2 separate regions of the Homo sapiens genome follow, and region 1 is linked to region 2. The links are contacts of gene promoters, found by promoter capture Hi-C in human tissues and cell types (Jung and others, 2019). All regions are on one chromosome and are shown on one strand. Each heading gives the region's core, a stretch centred on a gene start or on the middle of the fragment in contact. The rest is flanking DNA. Distances are from core to core; before and after follow the strand shown.

Region 1 (2,700 bases), core at 44-2,543, 38 kb before region 2:
GCCTAGCTAAGCTTTTTTATTTTTTGTAGAGGCAGGGTCTTATTATGTTGACCAGGCTAGTCTGAAACTCCTGGCCTCAAGCAGTCCTCCCACTTCAGCCTCCCAAAGTGCTAGGATTACACGTGTAAGCCTCCACCCTGGGCTGAAGCTAGAGATTAATTTTCAGGAGTTAATATCTCTCCATTAATTTAGCTCTTCTTTAATTTCTGTCATCAATATTATATAATTTTCAGTATAGAGGGAAGGTCTTAGACATCTTAGATTTATTTGTGAGAATTTGGTGCTTTTTGATGTTATAATTGAATTGTTTAAGTTTTTTGTCTCTAGCATATAGAAATGATTTTTGCATACTGACTGTATCAAGAGGCCTTGCTAAATTCATTTATTCTAATAGCGTATGGATTCTTTTGGATTTTCTTTGTACATGATGATGTTTACTTATAATGCTGGCTACGATCTCCAATGATATTTATACTTTTCTGTATGTATAATATACTTCAGTTGTTTTAATTTAGTGACAAAACTGAGTTAAACTAAAGAGACTAAAATGACATAACCAAATGTAATGCATGAAACCTGATTGGATCTTGATTTTTTAAAATGTATAAGAGGTTTGCTCCTACAATGAAAGAAATTTGAACATGATCTGAACATTAAATGATTGAATGAAAATATTGTTAATTTTCTTTAAAATACTTTGATTATTGTGTTGTAATTATATAGAAGTGTACTGTTCTTAGGAGATGAATGTATTTAGAGAAATAATCACGACAAATATTCATCAAAAGTGTGTGTGTAGAAAGAGAGAGAGACAAAGCAGATGTGCAAAATGTTAACAATTCTTGAATCTAAATGGAGACTTGTGGTACACAGGCTTACAGTAGTTCCCATGATTCCGACTCCTGGTGTTCATACTCTTATGTGACACCTCTCCCTCTCCCTTCTTGTGAGCAAGAACTGTGACTTGCTTCTGGACAATAACATATGGCAAAGGTGACAGGATATACATGATTACCTAAGTTCTCTCTTTTTCCTTTATTAGCTTTGAGGAAGCAAGTGAACATCTTGGGCAATCCCAACAAGGAAGTAACATGGCCTCTATGGGGTGAGGGTAGCTTCCAGCTGACAGCCAGCAAGAAACAGAAGACCTCAATCTTATAGATGCAAAGACCTGAATTATGCCTATAATGTGAGTGAGCTTAGAAGTTATTTTTTCCCCCAGTCAAGCATCTGATGAGACCACAGCCCTGGCTGGCATCTTGTACAGTCTTGTGAAACCTTAAGAACAGGATCCAGCTAAACCATAGCCAGCATCTTGAGCCACAGAAGTTGTGAGATAATAAATATATGTTGTTTTAAGCTGCTAAATGTGTGGTAATATTATTGTACAGCAATAGAAAGCTAATACAAGATGTGATGGTTAATTTTATGAGTCAACTTGACTGGGTGCCCAGATACTTAAACATTATTCTGGGTGTTTCTGTGAAGGTGTTTTTTGTTTGTTTCATTTGGGTTTCATTGTTTTTGTTTTTATTTTTGTTTCAGGGACAGGGTCTTGCTCTGTTGCCCAGGTTGGAATGCTATGGTGTGATCATAGCTCACTATGGCCTCAAACTTCTAGGCTCAAGCCATCTTCCCACCACAGCCTCCCAAAGTACAAGGATTACAGGTGTGAGCCACTGCTCCCAGCCTTGTGATGATGTTTTTTGATGAAATTAACATTTAAATTAATAGCCTGAGTAAAGAAAATTGTCCTTCCTAATGTGGATGGGCCTCATCAAATCAGTTGAAAGCCTGAATAGAATTAAAAGGCTGACCCTCACCCAAGTAACAGAATTCTTCCTGCCTGACTGCCTTTGACCTGGGACATTGGCTTATTTTTCTCCCTTTTGACTCAAACTGAAACATCTGCACTTCCTGGCTCTTGAGCCTGCTGGCCTTTAGACAGAAGCTACACTGTTGACTCTACTGGTTCTCAGGTCTTTGGACTCAGATTGGAACTGAACCATTGGCTCTCCTGGGTGTCTGGCTTGCTGATTTCACCCTGAAGAACTCAGGACTTGTCAAGACTCCATAATTGCATGAGCCAATTCAAATCAATGAATCCTATTGGTTCTGTTTCTCTGGAGAACCCTGACTAATATGCAAGAATATACAGATGTCATCATATTATTAAGCTTTTCTATATGTTTGAAAATATTCACAATAAAAATTGGGAAAAATGATTCAAAGTCAGCAAGTGCTAGAAGACAGTTCAAAAGTGGCTCTTAAAGAAGTTCACTAGACTTTCTCCTTTCCTGATTCTCAACTTGTCTCCCTTCCTACTTCAGTGAATCTACTTCATTTAATATGGACTTTTAAACACACAATAGACACTGTAGTTAAACACAAATAATAAATCTGCCCCTTTTTTGTGCAGATTTAGTCTCTATAAACATTATGCTGATAAAGTTTGGCCTTAACCTTTGTTCTGTAAATGTTTCAGAATTTTTTACTGCCACATTACAAGATAGATGTCAGTCTAAATGCAGGCTTTTCTATAAAACTCAGCAGCTTCATAGATGGCCTCTAATTCATAGTCATAAAAGACAGGACTACATTTTTTTGGTTGAAAATAATTTCAAGAACCTCTTAAGTTCCCACCAGAACATAATGCTACTCTTGATTCTGCATGAGGTCAGTTTAATAAATTCAGATACC
Region 2 (2,700 bases), core at 201-2,700:
TTGGCCTCCCAAAGTGCTGGGATTACAGGCATGAGCCACAGCACTCAGCCAAAATATTTGCCTTTTAATAGGTACACTGCACATTGATGAAATTTTTTTAAGAGAACAGTCGGAGGTGGTAAGGGGGAGGAGCCCCGTGCCTTCATGCAAATTGGCTCAGTCTTCCTGGTAACCTCCAAACAAACAGCTGTAGGCAAAGGGCAGCCCAGATATAGGATTCAAACTCCCTAGAGCCTAACTTTGGGGTAAAGCACCCTGTGCAATTGCTTTGCATATGTTTACTAAATGAGGACCCTTTAGGTCCTCATTTCGGAGAGATCTTTTCTTTAATAAAGGAAGCCTGACCAGAGATAAATCTACTTTTCCCGAGAACTCAAAACTATAAACAAGTTTTGATTGACATTATCTGAATAACAAAAATAGTGATGGCCTTTCTCCACCAGACCCTCCAAGATAAATGAAGAGTTAAAAACTTTGCTTCTGGCCGGGCGTTGTGGCTCACACCTGTAATCCCGGCACTTTGGGAGGCCGAGGTGGGTGGATCACTTGAGGTCAGGAGTTCGAGACCAGCCTGGGCAACATGGTGAAACCCCATCTCTACTAAAAATACAAAAATTGGCCAGGCGTGATGGTGCACACCTGTCATCCCTGCTACTCCAGAGGCTGGCTCATGAGAATCGGTTGAACCCAGGAGGCAGAGGTTGCAGTGAGCCGAGATCACACCACTGCACTCCAGCCTGGGTGACAGAATGAGACTCCGTCTCAAAAAAACCAAAAACTAAAAACGACAGAAAAAGTTGCTTCTGCTTCATTTCCTTTTCATCTCTCAGTAGAGTTTAACATATGAAATGTATTTTTCGAAATTTTGTTAATATGTTTATTCATGTTTTAATAATAGCATAATAACCTTATAAATTCCTAAAGACGTAAATAAGAACGGTTGTTCCCACTAACACCCCAACCTGAAGTGTGGCTCTGGCTTTACCTGAAGTGGGTACAGGGATGCGGAGGGGTGGAAGGACCGGTGGGGACAGATGGACCCATGAACCAGCGGGTGGATGTGAGCTGAGGGGAGGGATACGGACTGGAGGAGCCAAAGCCCGTGACGTAGGGGTGCGTGCTTCCCTCAATGGGGAGACCCTGCTGCCGCTGTTGTTGGCCAAGTCGCCGTGGCCGAAGCGCGGTGGCCGAAGCGGGGGACGGGGGTGGGACTTACGGGGACAGAAGGCGGAGCTTCCAGCAGCTGCTGGCCCCCCTGGGTCCAGAGGAGCCTTGCCGCCCTCACCTGCGCAGAGCCTGGAGCCGACGCGTCACCCCCAGCGGAAGCGCCTCGCTGCCCGGGCGTCTGGCGAGGTGTGCGCTCCGGGTCCCAGCTCCAGCGCTTCGCGGCAGTCGCCCGCCTCTTTCCGCAAGCAGGGCGGGGACTGGGCGGCATCTACCGAGATCTGCGATTCGAGGCGCCGAGGAGCCGAAGACCACAGCTCAGCTCAGACGGCGCCCTAGGGCCGCACAGAGGGTCGGGCAGTGCCGGAGAGAGGTTTGAAAGCGCCGCCGCCAACTCGACAGCGCGTCCCAGGTCAGTGTGAGGCGCCGTCCCTGCCGGCTGCACTTGGGAAACTTTGGCTTGCAGTGGCGGCTGCCGGGAGGAGGACATCGAGGGCGCAGCGTGGAACCCAGCGGCCCGCACGGCCTCAGTGCTCCCTGCCCGGTGCGCGCAAGCCCCTGAAGCCCGCACCTCCCGCTCACCCTGACATTGCAGTGCCCCGAGCAGGATGAGAGACCCAGGGCCAGCCGAGGGCCGCCGGGCTGCAGGGGCCTCCCGAGAGACTCTGCCCCGCCACCCCGGGGCGCGCTCCACGCGAGCTCACCCTCGCGCCTCCTGCCTTTCCCACTGGTTCTCGGTTCCAGTTTTGCGGCCGCTGGGGCTTGGACTCCGCGGGGATGCGGGTTCCGCCTCCTTCTCAGCCTCGCCGAGCGGCGGGAACCGGCGAGGGCTGCCCGGCCGCGGGGTGTCGAGGAGGATGCGGGGCGGGGGGCCTGATGGGCGAAGGTCGGCGCAGCAGCGGGAGCGGCGCGCGCTGGGCCGCAAGAGCGCGCGGGTCGGAGGGGCTGACTTGGGCGCGTCTCCGGAGGGGCTGACTTGGGCGCGTCTCCGCAGGTGCCTCGGCAGCTGGGCAGCAGGAGGTGCCGGCTGGGCGCTGGGGGCGGGCTGGGGACTGCGGAGCCCTTTGCAGCTTCCAGGAGCTCCTGCTTCCAGGAGCCACACAGGGGCGGGCAGCCGGTTCCCGCCCTTCTCAGGTGCGCACAGCCTTGGCACCAGGATACCGGACCCCCTTAGCAGAGAGCCGGGTGCAGAGGTGCGCCTGCTCCGGGATGGGGGCAGTGGCTGCGCCCCTCAGACGCACCATTTCCCAAGGGAGGGCCGCGTCCGGCCGGCGGGCGAGCGGCGCAGGGACCGCTCCGCAGCGGCTGTGGGCAGAACCCGTTTTCATGGATGGTGATCGCCTTAGCCCGCCAGCTGCCTGCCCTGGCTCAGAGATGAGGCGACGAAACGCGCACCCCGCCCCCATCGGTGCCCTGGAGCTGTCGCCCCAGTCACCTTCCTTTGCCCTTCTCCGACAGCGCCTTGAGCTCGCTTCCTCCTGCTCTCAGGAAAAACTGAGGAAACGCGCCTGGTTCCAGGGGTCGGCGGGGACCGTG

The links. Contacts are between HindIII fragments. The study calls those that stand out against the background at their distance.
Region 1: a fragment that was not itself captured here is called in contact with the fragment with the promoter of ANKRD34B in region 2 in 1 of the 25 tissues and cell types used here (adrenal gland).

What each region holds. Positions count from the first base shown.
Region 1 is chr5:80,607,288-80,609,987 of GRCh38, reverse strand. It overlaps LINC01337 (long intergenic non-protein coding RNA 1337), which reads left to right. Exons shown (of 2, transcript NR_125754.1): 2 at 1,043-1,368. Among named protein-coding and RNA genes, the nearest start is that of LINC01337, 14 kb to the left of the region's middle. The HindIII fragment of the contact is 4,173 bases long and covers 1-2,700 here.
Region 2 is chr5:80,569,030-80,571,729 of GRCh38, reverse strand. It overlaps ANKRD34B (ankyrin repeat domain 34B), which reads left to right and starts at 1,450. Exons shown (of 5, transcript NM_001004441.3): 1 at 1,450-1,576; 2 at 2,623-2,700. The HindIII fragment of the contact is 14,198 bases long and covers 1-2,700 here.